7 separate regions of the Homo sapiens genome follow, and all the other regions are linked to region 6. The links are contacts of gene promoters, found by promoter capture Hi-C in blood cells and fetal thymus (Javierre and others, 2016). All regions are on one chromosome and are shown on one strand. Each heading gives the region's core, a stretch centred on a gene start or on the middle of the fragment in contact. The rest is flanking DNA. Distances are from core to core; before and after follow the strand shown.

Evidence for each region. Contacts are between HindIII fragments. The CHiCAGO score rates a contact against its expected background, and 5 or more counts as called.
Region 1: a contact is called between a fragment that was not itself captured here and the fragment with the promoter of PSMD7 in region 6, in 7 of 17 cell types (M1 macrophages, naive CD4 T cells, non-activated CD4 T cells and 4 more). The highest score is 10.0, in M1 macrophages.
Region 2: the fragment with the promoter of ZNF23 here is called in contact with the fragment with the promoter of PSMD7 in region 6 in 1 of 17 cell types (activated CD4 T cells); the score reaches 6.4 in activated CD4 T cells.
Region 3: a contact is called between the fragment with the promoter of MARVELD3 here and the fragment with the promoter of PSMD7 in region 6, in 1 of 17 cell types (M0 macrophages). The highest score is 6.0, in M0 macrophages.
Region 4: a contact is called between a fragment that was not itself captured here and the fragment with the promoter of PSMD7 in region 6, in 1 of 17 cell types (fetal thymus). The highest score is 7.0, in fetal thymus.
Region 5: a contact is called between the fragment with the promoter of MON1B here and the fragment with the promoter of PSMD7 in region 6, in 4 of 17 cell types (neutrophils, naive CD8 T cells, activated CD4 T cells and 1 more). The highest score is 8.6, in neutrophils.
Region 7: a contact is called between a fragment that was not itself captured here and the fragment with the promoter of PSMD7 in region 6, in 1 of 17 cell types (total CD8 T cells). The highest score is 5.3, in total CD8 T cells.

The regions. Positions count from the first base shown.
Region 1 is chr16:71,478,910-71,481,609 of GRCh38, forward strand. It overlaps ZNF19 (zinc finger protein 19), which reads right to left. Exons shown (of 6, transcript NM_006961.4): 4 at 1-96. Among named protein-coding and RNA genes, the nearest start is that of ZNF19, 9.1 kb to the right of the region's middle. The HindIII fragment of the contact is 7,433 bases long and covers 1-2,700 here.
Region 2 is chr16:71,460,986-71,463,707 of GRCh38, forward strand. It overlaps ZNF23 (zinc finger protein 23), which reads right to left and starts at 1,262. Exons shown (of 5, transcript NM_001381984.1): 1 at 1,225-1,262. LOC124903709 (a long non-coding RNA gene) reads left to right here and starts at 1,327. Exons shown (of 2, transcript XR_007065105.1): 1 at 1,327-2,307. RefSeq lists enhancers at 861-950, 1,221-1,380. The HindIII fragment of the contact is 7,082 bases long and covers 1-2,722 here.
Region 3 is chr16:71,624,883-71,627,582 of GRCh38, forward strand. It overlaps MARVELD3 (MARVEL domain containing 3), which reads left to right and starts at 1,302. Exons shown (of 3, transcript NM_052858.6): 1 at 1,302-1,814. The coding sequence starts at 1,348. RefSeq lists a silencer at 2,123-2,172. The HindIII fragment of the contact is 6,796 bases long and covers 1-2,700 here.
Region 4 is chr16:71,560,362-71,563,061 of GRCh38, forward strand. No RefSeq gene overlaps it. Among named protein-coding and RNA genes, the nearest start is that of TAT-AS1, 3.3 kb to the right of the region's middle. RefSeq lists an enhancer at 1,379-1,880. The HindIII fragment of the contact is 2,438 bases long and covers 80-2,517 here.
Region 5 is chr16:77,189,927-77,192,626 of GRCh38, forward strand. MON1B (MON1 vesicular trafficking associated B) reads left to right here and starts at 1,264. Exons shown (of 6, transcript NM_014940.4): 1 at 1,264-1,332; 2 at 1,550-1,707. The coding sequence starts at 1,560. It overlaps LOC124903725, which reads right to left and starts at 640. Exons shown (of 1, transcript XM_047435021.1): 1 at 1-640. The coding sequence starts at 640. The coding sequence ends at 296. RefSeq lists enhancers at 982-1,930, 1,056-1,345, 1,366-1,415. The HindIII fragment of the contact is 24,724 bases long and covers 1-2,700 here.
Region 6 is chr16:74,295,364-74,298,063 of GRCh38, forward strand. PSMD7 (proteasome 26S subunit, non-ATPase 7) reads left to right here and starts at 1,451. Exons shown (of 7, transcript NM_002811.5): 1 at 1,451-1,625. The coding sequence starts at 1,552. RefSeq lists enhancers at 684-1,575, 1,366-1,675, 1,576-2,465. The HindIII fragment of the contact is 3,645 bases long and covers 784-2,700 here.
Region 7 is chr16:77,217,738-77,220,437 of GRCh38, forward strand. It overlaps the pseudogene VN2R10P. Among named protein-coding and RNA genes, the nearest start is that of SYCE1L, 20 kb to the left of the region's middle. The HindIII fragment of the contact is 3,666 bases long and covers 1-2,700 here.

The sequences.
Region 1 (2,700 bases), core at 52-2,551, 2.8 Mb before region 6:
CATCACACTTCTGTACAGGGCCCTCTGGGCAGGAGAAAGGCCAGTCCATTCTGTCTTGGTGAAGTGCACAGCCACATCCTCGAAGGTCACCATCTCCTAAAACAACAGGTTCCTGCTGCCCCAGAGCCAATCCTCTGGCTCCGGGCCAGAGTGTGGGGCAGAGGGGACAGGTAGGGACTTGAGGGAAAGTCCTGTGAGGGATAGGTAATGAGAAAATGTGACAGAACTGGATATTAGACCATTATATGACTATTTTTACAACGAAAAATCTGGAACTTCTCTCACTACCAGAAGAGATTCCATTAGGATATAAAATTGACTGTCATAAAATGTGATTTAACATTTTTTAAACCCTAGGAAAAAAAGTCTCTTATTAGTTAACCTTCCTAGGGCAAAAATCTCTTTGATTTAGTAAATATTTTCAGTCTTTTACTTTTGTACCTACAGGTGGACAATTTGCTTCAAATGGTATCTCAGGACCCACCTATTCCTATTAGGTACTCCCTATTCTCAGCCAATCTATCTGTTCCCCACATGTGTTCACCCTGCCCCAAACCTTATGCCCATGAAACAAGCACAGAGTCATGGTTTGCACTGATGGGCCTATCTCATCCGACTCCCATTCGATTCTTGTATAAAGGACTGGGCTGCCTGTGCTCAAGAGCATCCTGTAGAGGGAGCTCAGAGTCTCCTGGCACAATCCACTCTGCTCCTTGATGGCTTTTCCTAGAAAACCATGCTTCTAGAATTAAATTGCTGCTGCTGGGTAGCTCTTTTAGCTCCTTATCTTTATAGCTCCAAGACAATCTGTAATAGCTTCTGCCAACCAAGCCTCATGCTTCTTGGGTTTTTTTTTCTTTCTTTCTTTCGGTTTTGGTTCTTTTTCTCTTTTTTTTCTGTTTTTGACAGTGTCTTGCTCTGTCACCCAGGTTGGAGTGCAGTGGCACAATCTCAGCTCACTGCAGCCTCGACCTCCCAGCTCAGGTGATCCTCCCGCCTCAGACTCTTGAGTAGCTGGGACTATAGGTGCACACCACCATGCCAGGCTAATCTTTGTATTTTCTGTAGAGACAAGGTTTTGCCACGTTCCCCAGGCTGGTCTCAAACTCCTGGACTCAAGAGATCCGTCTGCCTCGGCCTCCCAAAGTGCTGGGATTACGGGAATGAGCCACCATGCCCAGCCCCTCATGCTTTTTCAACAGACACCCTTCTCCCTCCCTGCTGGCCTCAACTCTACCTTTCCACAAAGTTCTGGCATCTGGTTTAGAGCCTCTATTCACTCCTCAGATGTTGGTATTGAACTTCGTTACCGGAGTGCTCAGGGAATACACTCCGACCTTCCAATGCCTCAACTGATTTTGCACATATCCACATCCCCCTCATCCCAGCACTGCCTCAGACTCTCTGGATGACCCAACACACTGACTCACCAAGCAACCCCAAACTCATCTTCCCCAAAATGGCTTCCTTTCTAATTTATATAAACTAAGTGGCAGTGTGACAATATTTTTCCCTCTCTGTTGATAACACCAATTTCAACCCAGTCTCTAATGCTAGAACTTCAGATTAATCCTAGACATTCTAACCCCCATCATCACTCATTGCTGACAGTTAATACTCAAGTCCTGCCAATTTTATTACCTACGTTATTTCTGGAATCTGACTCTTCTTCACTGTGGTACAATCAGTAAACTAGGTCAACAGCTGGGGACACTTTAGCTCTACTTCCAGTCTTGTCCCACACTGAATCTATCCTCTGCCCAGCTGACAACCTGACTTCATCAACTCCTGAATGAACCTCTTGAATGAATCACCACTAACTAGAGCAGTGGTATTCAGAGTGTGGTCTCCAGACCACCACCAGTAGCGGATGCAACACTTGGGAATTTGTTAGGCAAATTCTTGGGCCCCACTCTGAGAGAAGTCCATACTTCAGTGAGCCCTCCAGGTAATTCTGATGTACACTGAAGTCTGAGAACCCTGGATTGGAGGATAAAATCCAAACTCAGGAAACTGAGCTGTATTAGGTGACAAAGTGATGGAAAGGTGCACAACTATACACAGAGAATCTATCCGGGAAGCGCTGCAAACAAAATTCCAGAGAAGGAACAACAAACTCTAAATGTAATCTGAAAGATGGCACAAGTGGCAGAGAGAGAAGGAAAAACAACAAGACTTTGTGTCTCTCTGGAAATGGTATCAGGGGAGAACATAGTCAACAATTACACAGCAATTTAGAAACTGAGTGATCAGGACTGCAATATAGTGTGATGTCAGACACTTGTGGAAAAACCAGAAGAGGGTGGGAGCTCCAAGGAAGCTGATATATCAGTGACACAGTCAGGTAGAGAAAACTGAAGGATGTGAGAAATATGAGATTATGATTTGGGATATGGTTCATGGATACTAAGTTACTGGATAAATAAGTGCCAGGAGAAAAGAAATGACAAAGCAGCAACTCCGTCTCAAAAAGTGAAATGTAATTCAAGAAATCAATTCTCTGTCCCAAAAATGTAAGGTACTTATGTTCACCTTACAAATGAATCCAGTTAAGATGCAAAGCAATTATGTGACTGGCTCAAGGCTATGATGCCACTGAGGCCTAACAGATCCCTAACTTCAGGTGTCCTGTTGGGAGTGTAGACTTTTCCTATCACAGCCCATTGCCTCACTTCGCCAGCAGTACTGACCTCAAGGACA
Region 2 (2,722 bases), core at 12-2,511, 2.8 Mb before region 6:
ACTTAACATTGAATTATGCGAGTCCCAGATGACTTATACACACAATGGTGCCATTTATATGAAGCTCAAAAAAAAAATTTAAGTACATTGCTTACAGATACATGCATATGTAATTATTTTTTAAAATAACAGGGCTACAATTAACACAAAAGTCAATATAACTGTTACCTCTAGGGGTTGGAGGCTGGGAGTTGGGTTGAGGAGGAGGAACACATTGATAAATTCAGCAGTACTGGCAATCTTCTCTTTCTTAATTGGGTGGTGTGTTCATGGATGTTTACTACTATATATGTAACATATAAATATATATTTTAAATAAATATATAAACCAGCAAGGATGGGGTGAAATTGAGGACCCAAAATGTAATACAAAGAACAGCCAATGTGCTTAACTATACTACAGTGAACATAACCACACTTAAGTGGTAGGAAAGAAAAGGGGTAAGCAACTTTGGAAAACAGTATTTTGACTAAATACCATAAGAGTAAAGACAAAAAGACCTGTATCCAAGTACTGTACTTTAGGTAGTAAATTTGCTTTTCATGGGGGTATGAATTAGCGATTCTGAGACTACTAAATATATTCTAAAACTGAGTGAATTCGTAATTACGTTGTAGAAGTCATTCCCAGGTCACTGTCAACCCTGAGCCGAGAGAAGCAGGGCTGAGTTACCTTTTGGGACTGACACTGCTCCAGGAGACAATGTCCTCCAAAAGCCGGGCTGCTTCTGCTGCCGGGTGACTGGGAGGGGCTCTGCGCTCCCACTCGGCCCTAATTCATGACCCTATGTCAGGAGCCTGGGAGCACACGGTCCATACTCGGGATGCACATAGGTTAATGTTCCTGCCAGACCTCAGCATGTCAAAAGACTTGTGGTATCACCTCGGGCCGCTTCACGCCCGCAAATATTCCATCTTTTAGCTGCACCGACACATCTTCCCCCGTCGACCAAGTGCTAAATGCTCAGGGCCTCGTGGCTGGGACAGCAACGTGCGTTTCCCCTTCCAATGGGCGCAAGCTATTGAGCCACAAAGACCAAAGCTGGAGTCGAGGAGCGCGGAAGAGCACCCCGGGCCGCCGCCCTGCTCCCTCTCCCAGCCTGGGCCTCCTGGCAGCGTAGGCCACGGGAGACCCTGCAGCACCCAGGGTGGGAGTGCGTCTCAACCGGACCCAGAGCCTGGGGGACAGGGCACGGCACACAGCGCCCGGAGCCCTGCACTCACCTCCGTAGCGGACTGCTCCCCGGCGCTGCCGGAAGTGCGTCACCAGGCGGCCGGGCCTCTCTAGGAGCAAGGTCGCTGCGCCTCGGTGGTGGTCACGCCCGGCCAGCTGTGGCCGCATCCCTGTCGGCTAGCTCGGGTCTGGCCCACGGTGACTGTTACCCCTGGGGAATGGGGCAGGTAAGAATCAGAGCCAAGCGGGGACCCAGCCCGGGGAGGTGAAGCTGCAGGTGCAGCCACGTGTGGGAGTCTTGGAAATGGACCAGTGGATGGCGCGCTGTCACACCCAATGCCCCCTTTTTCTAACAAATAGTTTGTAATGTCCATCTTATTCTCCTGACCTGATATTCATATATAATGGCCTAGAAAATCATACATAACATACACACCTACATATTAAAAACTAATGTTATGCCTTAAGTGTAATGAAAGAGAAAAAAAAGAGGACCGTCATCTGTCGTTTAAAAACACATACTTCAATGTGTTTGGTCTTGGCTGCTGCAGGAGACCTAATAAGGTGGTCGCCTTTACACATAGACGTTGTCTGAGTGCCACAGCCACAAAGCTGTGACTTACATTGTTGCAAAAGTCACAAAATTATGATCCAAAATGGCAAACATGTTTTCGTGAAGTTCTGAATGAAACACAGGACAATCGTCTCTTGATTATACAATAATTACATTCCTGGAAGATCAGTGTATGTTAAAACTGTGCAAAAATACATGTTTATCCAGAAAACAGGTTTAGATTCAGATAATTTAGAAATAGAATTTTCACCTACCTGAATGTTCAGCAAGACATTTGAAAGTGTGAACATTTTTTCAGTGGGCAGGACTGTCCTGTACATTGCAGGATCCTGGCTCCTATCCACAACGCTAGTAGCAATGTTACCACTGACACCAAATATAACAAAATACCTACCATAAAATTCCAAAATGAGCCCTGGGGGAAGGGAGACAGTACTAAATGCCACTGGATTGGACGACCCTTAAAATCCCCACCCCCTCACACACCCCCTAACCCTGGTAATGTGGGCTTTTCTTCCTTCCAGCTCTGATCCATCCAACGCTGCTGCACTGGAGACTGGTATTTGGCTCCCACTTGCCTCTGTGGCTTCTTATCACTCCCATTCATTCCCTGACTCTACCTCAGCCCTACATGCTAAAAATGCTGTTCTCTAAATCTAGAATGCCCTTCCCTTCCCATTCCTACCCTCCATCTTGACTGTTACTGGAAGTGTGAGCTCAAATCCCATTTTGCATGGGAAGCAAGCCTTCCCTCATCACCCAGAATAAGGCAGGACACTCATTTATGTGCCATCACAGCACTGTGTACTTACTTAATGGTGATAGTTTATTTATATGTCTGTCTTCTCTGGTGGCTGCAGGGAACAGACACTGTATCTATCTTGTTCAACATCATCATCCTCAGCTAGAGAATAACTGGCAGAAAGAAGGAGAGCAATAAACATTTGTTGTTGACAATGGTCCAAAGGCTCCAG
Region 3 (2,700 bases), core at 52-2,551, 2.7 Mb before region 6:
AAATTTTCCACTATATCTCCAGTACCTGCTAAAGCAGGTGCTCATACATATTTGCTGAAAGAATTAATTACCAGATGGCAATTGTATATATTTTGTAATATCCTTACTTGGCAGAATTAAAAGCTGCCAATTTTGTGTAAGTCCCCATTTTAAAAAACAGGGCTATTTGTAAGCCCAGGACTATTGTGATAGATGAACTGGCTGCAAGCCCCTTACAACATAGGTGTTATAAGGAAAACAGGAGAAGGGAGAAAGAGGGACAGTGGATGGGTGGAGGGAGAAGTGGAAGGTGGGTGACTGGGTGGATGTGTGGGTAGGTTAGTGGCCAGATGGATGGATGAATGGGTGAGTGGATGAATGGTGGATGGGTGGATGCGTGGGTGGGTGGCTGGATGGGTGAGTGGGTGGATGAATGGGTGGATGGATGGGTGAGTTGGTAGATGGGTGGGTGAGTGGGTGGGTGGATGGGTGGATGAGTGAATGGGTGGGTGGATGGATGGTGGATGGGTGGGTGAGAGTGGATGGTTAGGTGAGTGGGTGGATGGATGGGCAGGTGAGTGGGTGAGTGGGCGGATGGTAGATGGGTGGGTGGATGGGTGGGTGAGTGGGTGGATGGGTGGATGGATGGATGGAGGGTGGGTGGGTGGGCGGATGGGCAGGTGAGTGGGCGGGTAGATGGGTGGTGGATGGGTGGGTGAGTGGGTGGATAGATGGATGGATGGGTGGATGGTTAGATGGGTAGGTGAGTAGGTGGATAGGTGGATAGACGGGTGTATGGATGGGTGAGTGGTTGAATGGGTGGATGGTTGGACGGGTGGGTGAGTGGGTGGATGGGTGGATGGATGGTGGATGGGTGGGTGAGTGGGTGGATGGGTGGGTGAGTGGGTGGATGGGTGGGTGAATGGATGAGCGGGTAGTGGGTGATTGGGTGAATGAATGAGTGTCTGGCTGAGTGAGTGAGAGGATGGGTACCTCTGGGAAGGTAAATCCAAGTTGCAGTGTAAGTTGAGCCAGGGGAGGTGGCCACAGTTGGCTCCCTTAGGCCGCCCACCTCGTGGGGTCACCAAGGGGTTACTTCGGGGCAGAAAGGTGCGGCTGTGGGTCGCCCCGCCCGGGTTTCCAGCAGCAGCACCCCAGCCCCCACCCAGCACACAGGCACCCCTCCCGCCCGGGCCCCAGACGCGCTCAGGCCGCCCCCTGAGGGCGCCCGTTCTCAGGTGAGCTCCCGGACTAGCGCGCATGCGCACAGGTGAGTGCCCGCCCCGCCCCCGGGCTTGGCCACCTGCCCAAGAAACTTGTTGGTTGTTGCCCTCAGGTCGCTCCCGGGCGGGGACACGGAACCCGGCCATGGAAGATCCGTCGGGGGCTCGCGAGCCCCGGGCCCGGCCGAGAGAGCGGGACCCGGGACGGCGCCCCCACCCAGACCAAGGCCGCACCCACGATCGACCGCGGGACCGACCCGGGGACCCGCGCAGGAAGCGAAGCAGCGACGGGAACCGGCGAAGGGACGGGGACCGGGACCCGGAGAGAGACCAGGAGAGGGACGGGAACCGCGACCGGAACCGGGACCGGGAGAGGGAGAGAGAGAGGGAAAGAGACCCGGACCGAGGCCCCCGCCGGGACACACACAGGGACGCGGGCCCTCGCGCAGGTGAACACGGAGTTTGGGAAAAACCGCGCCAAAGCCGGACGCGGGACGGAGCCCGGGGACTGACCTGGGACGCAGCCGCGCCTCCTGGGCCCGCGCCCTGGGAAGCCCCGGAGCCGCCGCAGCCGCAGAGGAAGGGAGACCCCGGGCGCCGCAGACCCGAAAGGTGAGAGGGGCCGGGGCGCTGCGACCTCCGCGCCGGGGACACCTGTGGCCCAGGCCGGCCCGCGAGGCCCTGGCGTCCCCGGGTTCTCGTCCTAGGAGCCCGTTTAAATGAACAAATGCCGTTTCTCCCTTCTGCGCTCTCAGAGGCGACCTGGCAGGGAAGGAAAACTTTAGGGTTCCCCCTTCTCGTGGCCTGAACCCAACTAACAAAGCAAAAACCACCCCTGTGAGCAGTGGCTGGGCTGGAGGACCTGGAGAAGAGAAAGAGAGGCCCCGGGACCCGAGAGGGAGGGGTGGGAGGAGACCAGGCGGGTGGGGTTCACCCCAGGCTCCTCCCCGGCCCGGCCCGCATGGTCACAGGACTGCGCCTTGGGGTTCAGACCCTTGTCCCGTGTTCCAGAGCCAGCCCTTCCCGACTCCAAAGTCCCCTTCCTTGTGGCCGGGCCGCCCACTTGGGAAGCCCGATGAAGAGTTAATAGTTTAATGTGTTACCCCTCCCAGGAATAGGTGCCTTCAGAAACAGGTGGGCCGGCGCGGTGGCTCATGCCTGTAATCCCAACACTTTGGGAGGCCGAGGCGGGCGGATCACCTGAGGCCAGGAGTTCGAGACCAGCCTGGCCAACATGGTGAAACCCCGTCTTTACTAAAAATACAAAAACTTAGCCAGGCGTGATGGCAGATGCCTGTAATCCCAGCTACTTGGGAGGCTGAGGAGGGAGAATCGCTTGAACCCGGGAGGCGGAGGTTGCAGTGAGCCGAGATCGCACCACTGCACTCCAGCCTGGGCGACAAAGCGAGACTCCGTCTCAAAAAAAAAAAAAAAAGTCAGATGGGAGACGCTACATTTTTAACCAAAGAACAAAGTCTACGTAAAATTCTCCCACTGA
Region 4 (2,700 bases), core at 49-2,548, 2.7 Mb before region 6:
TTTAAGTTCCATTTTTCCTTTTGTTGCCTATGCTTTTGGTGTCATATCCAAGAAATCATTGCCAAATCCAGTATCATGAAGCTTTCCTCCCATGTTTTCTTCTAGGAGTTTTATAGTTTGGGGTATTACATTTAGGTCTTTAGTCTATTTTGAGTTAATTTTTATATATGGTGTAATATAAGGGCCCAGTTTCCTTTGCATGTGGATATCTAGTTTTCCCAAAACCATTTGTTGAAGACACTTTTCTTTCCCCATTCAGTCATCTTGGCACCCTTGTCAAAGATCATTTGACCATATATACAAGGGTTTATTTCTTGGCTATTCTATTTCATTGGCCCATTTATCTGTTTTTATGCCAGTACCACACTGTTCTGATTACTGTGGTTTCGTAATATCTTTTGAAATCAGAAAGTGTGACTCCTTCAACTTTATTCTTCCTTTTCAAAATTTTTTTTGGTTATTCAGGGTCCCTTGAGATTTTGTGTGAATTTTAGGGTGATTTTTTTCTATTTTGAAAAAAAATGCTATTGGGATTTTGATATGGATTGTGTTGAAATCTATTGATCACTTGGGGCAGCATGAATATCTTCACAGCATTAAGTACTGCAATCCATGAGAATGGGACGCCTTCTCATTTATTTGTGTCTCCTTTAGTTTCTTACAGCAATGTTTTGTAGTTTTGATTGTACAAATCTTTTTATTTTTTTTCTGAGACAGAGTCTTGCTCTCTCACCCAGGCTGGAGTGCAGTGGCATGATTGCAGCTCACTGCAGCCTCCACCTCATGGGTTCAAGCAATTCTCCTGCCTCAGACTCTTGAGTAGCTAGGATTACAGGTGTGCACCACCATGCCCAGCTAATTTTTGTATTTTTAGTAGAGATGGGTATTCACCATGTTCATCAGGCTGGTCCCGAATGCCTGACCTCGTGATCCACCCACCTTGTCCTCCCAAAGTGCTGGGATTACAGGCATGAGCCACCATGCCCAGCTGATTGTACAAATAATTTACCTCCTTGCTTAGGTTTATTCCTAAGTATTTTATTCTTTTCGATGCTGTTGTAAGTGGAACTGTTTTCTTAATTTTCTTTTTGGATTGTTCATTGTTAGTGTATAGAAAAGCAACTGACTTTTGCATATCAATTTTGTATTCTACAATTTTGCTGAATTTGGTTATTAGTTCTAACAGAGTTTTTGTGGAATCTTTTAAGGTTTTCTACATATAAGATCATGTCATCTGTGAACAAAGATAATTTTACTTCTTCCTTTCCAATTTGAATGCTACTGGGGGAACCAGCCCCCAATATTTCAACATGGTTCTTTCTATTTTCCCTAAGTGTCGGCTGGTCTGAGAAATAAAGAGAAATAGTACAAAGAGAGGAATTTTACAGCTGGGCCTCTGGGGGTGACATCACATATTGGTAGGACCGTGATGATGACCCCGAGCCGCAAAACCAGCAAGTTTTTATTAGGGATTTTAAAAGGGGAGGGGGTGTACAAACAGGGAGTAGGTCACAAGGATCACATGCTTCAAAGGGCAATAAAGATCACAAGGCAAGGCAAAATTAGAATTACTGATGAGGGTCTATGTCCCACTGTGCACACATTGTCTTGATAAACATCTTAACAGGAAACACGGTTCAAGAGCAGAGAACTGGTCTGACTAGAATTTACCAGGCTGGAATTTCCCAAAGCCTGAGGGTACTGCAGGAGACCAGGGCGTATTTCAGTCCTTATCTTAACGGCGTAAGACAGACACTCCCAGAGCGGCCGTCTATAGACCTACCCCCAGGAATGAATTCCTTCCCCAGGGTTACTCCTTGCTGGGAAAAGAATTCAGCAGTATTTCTCCTACTCACACATCCGTCTATAGGCTTTCTGTGAGAAGAAAAATATGGCTGTATTCTGCCTGACCCCGCAGGCAGTGAGACCCTATGGTTATCTTCCCTTGTTCCCTGAAAATCACTGTTATTCTGTTCTTTTTCAGGGTGCACTGATTTCATATTGTTCAAACACACCTGTTTTACAATCAGATTTCATATTGTTCAAACACACATGTTCTACAATCAATTTGTACAATAGTGGTCCTGAGGTGACGTACATTCTCAGCTTACAAAGATAACAGGATTAAGAGATTAAAGTAAAGACAGACATAAGAAATTATAAGAGTATTATTAGGGAAGTGATAAATGTCCATGAAATCTTCACAATTTATGTTCAAAGATTGCAGTAAAGACAGGCGTAAGAAACTTTAAAAGTATTAATTTTGGGAATTGATAAATGTCCATGAAATCCTCATAATTTATGTTCTTCTGCCTCAGCTCCAGCTGGTCCCTCCATTTGGGGTCCCTGACTTCCTGCAACACAATGCCTTTTATTTCTTTTTCTTGTCTTATTGCTCTGGCCACTACTTCCAATACTATGTTGAATCAAAGTGGTGAAAGTGGGCATCCATGCTTTTTTCCTGATCTTAGAAAAAGAGATTTTAGTCTTTCACCATTGAGTATGAAGTTAAATATAAGCTTTTCTTTTCTTTCTTTGTTTCTTTCTTTATTTGGAGATGGAGTCTTGCTCTGTCACCCAGGCTGGAGTGCAGTGGCACGATCTTGGCTCACTACAGCCTCTGCCTCCTGGGTTCAAGCAATTCTCCTGCCTCAGCCTCCTGAGTAGCTGGAACTACAGGCATGTGCCACCACGCCTGGC
Region 5 (2,700 bases), core at 14-2,513, 2.9 Mb after region 6:
TTTATTGTACTTTTTTACATGTTTATTATATATTATATACTTCTAAATGTATTAGGTAAATATATTTTGTATGCACATAAATTTATCCATTGTTTCTGTTATATAAATTTAATATTTATTACTTATCGATTACCTATTGTATATAAAGCACATGATGCTACACTGGTATTTGGAATTCATTACCCTAACTATACTGTAATTAAAATAATTATCCTAACTAGTACCAAAGGCTTCCCCTTAGCAATCACTCGAAGTGTGCCAGCACCTCCACTCACTTCACGTCAAGCGATTCCCATCATTGTTTCACTGATGGAGAAACCAAGGCCCAGGGCACTTGGGGCAAGGCGTTCAGGGGGCTTTCGGTCCGGAAGCAGCGTCGGGGCGGGAATTCGAACCCTGGGTTCCCACACTGGCCCGTGGCAGGGCCCCCAAGCCTTTTCCCAAACTGATCACAGAAAGTGACGACCCGTTCGCCCGGCGGACCGGGGGCGTCGGGCAGGTCCTGGTCCAAGTGAGTGCCCGCCCCTGCCCTGGGCTGGCAGAGTTCTTCCCCCAGCTGCAGGTAGACGTGGGAACCCGGCAGGGTACGGAGCTGCTGGCGCGGCACGCTGATTAGAAGCGGCGACTGCCCGTCAAGCATTCGCGCCTCTCCCCTCCCTTGACTTTCTTGGCAGGGTTAAGGGATAAGAGAAAGTGGAGTTGCCTCAGTTCTGGGAGAGCCCGTTTGTGGGTCCGGCACAGGTATCCATCGGGACTGACGCTGCAAAAGTCCTCTTGTGAAACAAGGAATAGGCTCGAGTCTTCGATTGGGTCGAGGGAGACGTCAATCAATGGATGGGCGTGTGCAAACGCAACACAACGCACAGTATTGGTTAGGATTTGGCGGGGGGAGTAGACAGCGGGGAAATGAGGCGGCTCATCTCGATTGGCCCAGAAAGAAGACGGTCGCGCCCTATGTACTCCGGGATTGGCTAGAGCGAGCCGCGTCCCCCCTCACGCCAACCACTGGTAAGCGAAGTGGGCCTCGCTCTCCCGGGTTAGCAGCCGTAGCCAGATCCGTTGAAAGGAGTGCAGAGAGGTCTCATTGCGCTCCCGAACAGACCTGACGTAGATCCGAAGTGGCCCGCGCCATCTCAACTATGAGGGGACACCCGTAGGCGGCGGGAGAGGGACGCCGCGAGGAGCCAATAAAGCTCCGCAACCGGAAGTGTCTTCTGGGAGGGGTCGTACCCGGAAGTGTGGCACCTCCCGGGCCGCACCCGGAAGTGTGATGCCACCGCCGCTACGGGGAAGTAATGGTATCCGGCCAATTGAGATTCGGAGTTAAAACAGGTGTTTGTATATCTCTATTTCCTGAGGCCCAGTAGAGTCTCCTCTTTTCGGAAAGTGTTGGAGGGGGGACGTATTTGGGCATGATTTTGGATGTCTCGTCCTATTGAAATCCGTGGGGAAATGAGCAGTAGGAGTGTGTCCAAGGGGGCCTGACTCTATAAAGGCTTTTCAGAAGTTTCTTTCACCGCCCGTCACCCTCGATTCCCCTCCCACTCAGGGATGTGCAGATGGAGGTCGGAGGAGACACTGCTGCCCCGGCCCCCGGGGGCGCGGAGGACTTGGAGGACACGCAGTTCCCCAGTGAGGAAGCTAGAGAAGGTGGAGGGGTTCACGCGGTCCCGCCGGATCCCGAAGACGAGGGCCTGGAGGAAACAGGTATGACTCCACTTAGTGGGGTCTTAAAAGGAATCCTTAGGGGTTGTCATTGTTGGACGGGGGAAGGGTCAGTGGGTGACCAGTAGGGAGTCTTGGGACTTAAGAGAAGTGGCTTAAACCATCGCCGGGTCAGGAGGAGGTCACTGTGGACACATGGTGTAGTTTACATCATTGAGGAAGTCATTGGCTGTCAACGGATGTTCACTGGGGGTTTGGTGTGAGTTTAGGTCATTGAGGAATCAAAAAGGGGGCTGTTAGGACCAAAGAGGGTCACTGAGGATTTAGAGTGTTTAGATCAAAGAATGCGCTGAAGAAAGTCAATAGACTCAACAGAGGAGGACTGTTGAGAAGTTAGTGTTTTTGAGGAGTAGGGTGTTATTTATTAAATAATAGAAGTGGGAAGGGGAATCAGTGGAGTTCGATGGGCACTCAGAGTATTTACATCATTGAAGTCACTTGTAGACTGTTGGGGAAGTCTTTAAGGGACCAAATGTTAGTGGATGTGTAAAGTTGTTCATTTGAGATTTAATGGAAGTCACTGAGAAGTCTGTGCCATTGATCACTTTGGAATTAGTGGATGTAAATGGAGTCATTGGGAAGGATCAGTGGACCTCACTGAGAATAAATGTGGATGGGGAGGTTGAGGACTTGGGAATTAATAGCAGGTAAGAGCAGTTATTAGGAGGGAGTAAAGATATTTGGGGACATGGGAGTGTCAGTGAATGTCAGTGACAGAATATGCAATTATTGGGATTTTATGGGAAAATTATTGAGACATAGTTGCACATGGATAATAATGGTTGTCATTGGGGGATGAATGGAAATCAATGGGAATAAATGGATGTGTCAGTAGGGGCTGTTGAAGTTGTGGGTTTTAGTGAATGTTAATGATGGTCATGGGTAGGGGCAATGGAAGTCATTAAAGTCTTGTGTGTTAGTGGATATTATGATGGTTACTGTAGGGAGGGGAGTGGATACCAATGAGATTGAAGG
Region 6 (2,700 bases), core at 201-2,700:
CCTGGTGATTTGTAAGCATATCAAAGTTTGAGAAGCATTAATTAAAAGGATTAAATATTTGCGTCTGAACCAGGGCTGGCATATTATAGGCACTCAATAGATTCAATAATTCTTAGTTTTCTTTCCCCATTAACATAACCCTTATATCTTTCTAGTTATAATTAAGAATGAATGGCCAGGCACAGTAGCTCACACCTGTAATCCCAGCAGTTTGGGAGGCTGAGGTGGGAGGATTGCTTGAGGCTGGGGGTTTAAGACCAGCTTGGACAACATAGTGAGACACCAACTGTACCAAAAAAAAAAATGAAAAAATAAAGATAGCATTGAGTCTCTTCAATTAATTATGAATATTAAGCATATCCTGCCATTTACTTCCTTGCAGATCTAGCAGAAAATCTGAAAATAAAGCCAAGTTGCAGACAGAAGACAAAGATAAATTCACATGCAGACAAATTCAAACTCCTGACTACATTAATGTCTCTCATTGGTGGCCAAATTTCAGTCTAATCTTTGCTAATGTTTTTCACCACCCACAAATAAGAGAGACTGAGTGTGTCCCTTGACATTTGGAGATCAGGAAGTCCACCTTAAAAAGACAAGAGGCCAAAATGTTGGGAAAATCCTCTGGTGATAAAGGGAAAGCAAAAATTGTTTAAAAACAGAACAAAATATAAGTAAATAATTCAGGTTGCTTAAGTACTGTTTTCGTTTACAGAAACAGCAACTTCAAATGAGACGATATAAACCTGTATGATTTTTCTTATAATTTGCCTCCTGCAAATAAGCTTAAGTCTTTGTCTACCTTAGTCTTCTCTTTCCTAGCTACATATCACAACATACTTCCTTACTGCCTTCCTTCCGTCTTTTCTTCAACGCTTCTGTAAATTTTGATTTCAAAAGCAACGGCACAATTGCGTTCTTCTAGCCCTAGTTACGCAGTAATATAACGACAGGTGGAAACCTGCAGGTTGCCACGTTCATTGCAAAGTGTCCACAGTAAAGATAAAGGAGAAATTCCCCCGGCAATGAAAACGAGAATGAGATAAATTACCAAATTACATTAAAAGCGTGCTCTTATGTTAGAGATTTAAAGTTCCTCTCAGAAATCGCGGAGGATTTTGACCTGAAGCAAAAGTGAACTTCTTCCGGGTGGTAGAAAAGTAAACTGTCAACTATTTACTTTGGGGGGGTGGCGGGGGGAGGGTGCTGGGAAGGAATTGAGGCGAAAAGCCTCTGCAGGTGACGGTACAGGCCAATACCAGGAGGTCAAGTCGCCGGTGTCCCTTCGGCCCTTAAGTCCAGGGAAACGCACGGCGAGGGACGAGGGGCGATTCCCGCCTTTCTCCAGCCCTTTCTCCGCCCACAAATGACGGCGGTGGCGAAGATCCGGGCCCGCCGCGCGAGGCACTCTGGGAGCGGAAGAAGGAGGCCGCGCGAGGGCTGACGAACCGGAAGAAGAGGAACTGGGCCTGAAAGGGTACCGGTGACCGCTACTGCTGCCGGTGTTTGCGTGTGGCAGGGAGCCAGGCCTGGCGAGCGGGGTGTGTCGCGATGCCGGAGCTGGCAGTGCAGAAGGTGGTGGTCCACCCCCTGGTGCTGCTCAGTGTGGTGGATCATTTCAACCGGTGAGCGAGCGCCCTATAGCTGGGCCGGCGGCGCAGCCGCTGCTGAGTCACGGGCACGCTGGAGATGGCGCGGCGGCCGCGGACGAGCTGGGGACGCAGATAGGGCGGCTGGTGACCCTTACTTGTTCACGAGTCCAGACCAGCGTCGGCTCACGATGCCGGAGTCATCCAGCCTCCCGCCCCTGCCCCAGCCGCCGCCACTTCGGGGCCTTGGCTGCCTGTTCCGTTTAGCCTGTTTGTTTTACAGAGTTCCCTTTCCGAGTTCGTTTTGCCGAAGTTCGTTTTACCGAAATCTGGATGATGCTGGGGGTCGGGAGATGCGGCTAGCTTTAGTTGGCCCTGACCCCCGCCCCCAAGCTCGTGTCTGTCACTTCGTTTTGAAGTTCGTTTTGCCGAAATCTGGATAAAGCCAGGGTGGGGCGGAGGCGGGCTAGCTTCATTTGGCTCTGACCCCCGACCCCAGGGTCGTATCTTCATTTGACTCAGTTGATTTCACTGAAATGTGAATAATGCAAAGTGACTGATGTCTGGATGATGCTTGGGTGGGGCGGAGTGGGCTAGCTCCATTTAGCCCCGCCCCAAGGCTATGTTTATCTTCGTTTGACCGAATTGGTTTCACCGAAATATGGATGATGCTGGAGTGGGGTGCAGGGTGGCTACCTTCATTTGGCCCTGACCCCGGCCCCAGGGTCGTATTTATGTTTATCCTCGTTTAACCAAGTTGATTTCACCGAAATGTGAATGATGCAAAGTGAATGATGCCTGGATGATGCCGGAGTGGGGCTAAGGGGGCTAGCTTCAATTTGGCCCTGACCCCCGCCCCCAGGGTCGTATCTATGTTTGTCTTCATTTGACCGAGTTCCTGTTATCGAAATCTGGATGATGCTCAGCACCCCGAAGGGCTTCCTGGATCAGCTGTGGTTTTAACCCATTAACATTTTTAAATGGGAATCTGATTAGACTCCGTCTCAAAAAAAAAAATGTATATATAGATGAGGTTTCAGTTTTTATTTAAAACACGAGGCCGAGCATGGTGGCTCACGCCTGTAATCCCAGCATTTTGGGAGGCTGAGAC
Region 7 (2,700 bases), core at 129-2,628, 2.9 Mb after region 6:
ATAGGTGTGAGCCACTGCTCCCGGGCCCTAATGCTTTTATAATTTAGTTTATATTTGAACTATTTGGAATTTATTTTGTGTCTGTACATAATCTGGAGAGAATTTACTGAATAGCACATGTATCCCCCCAACTGCAATGCCATCCTCGCCATATACCAAATAATCATGTCTATTTTGGTCAATTTCTGAACTGTTTATTCTATTCCTTTATCTAGTTACCTATTTATACACAAATACCAAACTTTTTATTATTATACCCTTAAATAATATTATGAAACTCACTTGGTGAGACCTCCTCTATATTTTCCTACTGTTTCAGAATTTTTCAAGGGTAGTTTCTTTCCTATGCATACTCTAGAATCATATTGTCTATTTCCAAAAAAAAAAAAAAAACAAAAAAACAAAAAACCTGACTGGGCGCAGTGGCTCACAGCTGTAATCCCAGCACTTTGGTGGGCAGAGGCAGGCAGACTATGAGGTCAGGAAATCAAGACCATCCTGACTAACATGGTGAAACCCTGTCTCTACTAAAAATACAAAAAATTAGCTGGATGTGGTGGCACAAGCCTGTAGTCCCAGCTACTAGGGAGGCTGAGGCAGGAGAATCACTTGAACCCAGGAGGCGGAGGTTGCAGTGAGCAGAGATCACGCCACTGCACTCTAGCCTTGTGGCAGTGTGAGACTCTGTTTCAAAAAAAATTAAACAGCAGCAACAACAACAAAAAACCCCTATTATTATTTGATATTTGTATTGAATGAAATATATACATTAACATGCAGGAAATTAGTATCATTATATTGAGCCTTCTAAAGGAGAAAAGAGTCTGTTTTATCTGTTTAGTTTTTTTTTTTTTTTTTTTTGAGATAGCGTTTCACTCTTGTTGCCTAGGCTGGAGCGCAATGGTGTGATCTCAGTTGACCACAACCTCCGCCTCCCGGGTTCAAGCAATTCTCCTGCCTCAGCCTCCTGGGTAGCTGGGATTACAGGCATGCATCACCATGCCCAGCTAATTTTGTATTTTTAGAAGAGATAGGGTTTCTCCATGTTAGTCGGGCTGTTCTCCAACTCCCGACCTCAGGTGATCCGCCTGCCTTGGCCTCCCAAAGTGCGGGGATTACAGGCGTTAGTCACCGCACCTGGCCTAATTTTTATTTTATGTGTTCTTCTCCTCTGTATATCTCTTTGAATTCTATTTTACCTGATAATAATGTTGCTACAGTAATTTTTTTTTTTTGAGACTGAGTCTCACTCTGTTGCCCAGGTTGGAGTGCAGTGGCACTATCTCGGCTCACTGCAACCTCTGCCTCCTGGGTTCAAGCAATTCTCCTGCCTCAGCCTCCCGAATTGCTGGGATTACAGGCACCTGCCACCATGCCCAGCTAATTTTTTGTATTTTTAGTAGAGATGGGGTTTCACCATGTTGGCCAGGCTGGTCTTGAACTCCTGACCTCAGGTGATCCACCCACCTCAGCCTCCCAAAGTGCTGGAATTACAGGCGTGAGCCACCACGCCCGGACAATAAATGTATTTTTAGGAATATTTTTCTTCGTATGTTTCTTTACTTGACTGTCTATTTAGGTATCTAATTTTTCAGGGTTTGTTTAATAAAACTATACTGTCATTGATAATTCATAGCCTAATGAGGAAGGCAACCCAGGACAAAGGGTTCAAAGACACAGGTACATACTAGAGTGTGGGGAGGCATGCAGGCACATCCTAATGCAGGTAATGTTGACTACGTTGTTAAAGGCAAGTAGGAATTAGTCAAGCAAAGAAGAGAGCAAAAGAAACTCCCTGTTGAAGAAGGTCATGGCAAAGCGAGAAGGCATGAGCACTGTGAGTATGATACATAAATCTCTACATCAGAATCTTTTGATCCAGTGTTTAGTTTATGACAAAAGATAAGGCCAGAAACCTATGTACAAACAAGATGATTAAGACCTTTCCTGCCACATCAAGCTGATGGAATTCTACCTCGAAATGTGGAAGGGATACACTAAGAAATATTTAGCTATTAGAACCTGAGGGCCTCTTTGATACCTGTTAAAAGTTGAACAGGTCCCCATTCTTAATAAGGCATCTGGTTCAGTGTAAATTCTTAGAAAATAATTGTCATTTGTGTAAATAATCCAGGAGAAGGCAGAGGTCAGGAAATGTTTTTCTTAGCGGGCCAAATAGTAAATATTTTAGACTTTGCAAGCCAAGAGGTGAAATTGAAAGTATGTAAATACTTGTATAACCATTTAAAATGCAACCATCTAAAAGTATTAAAACATTCATAGATTATAAGCCCTATAAAATTACTAATGGCTAGATTTGACCTGTAGGCTATAGTTTGTGGACTCTTGGCCTAGAGAATGGATATTTAAATTTTTAAGGGAGTATAATGCTTTCATTATGAAAGAAAATGGAAAATAATTCGTTGGCATGTGGAGAAATGAACAATGAGAGAAAATGTTATTTTGGGAAATAAAACCAAGGAGAGAATTGGCATGTTAGTTTGAAATTATTGCTTCTGTAACATGCTAAAAAGCATGACATTTGAGTATAGCACTGAGATGGACAAGGTGCCCTACAAGGCCAAAAATGACTTTTTTGTTTCTGGGAATCAGTAAGGATTTATGAATCTTGAACAAAAAACCATTGCTTTGTTTTTCAGATACTATTCAGTATAAGAAGTGTCCAGATGATCAATATCA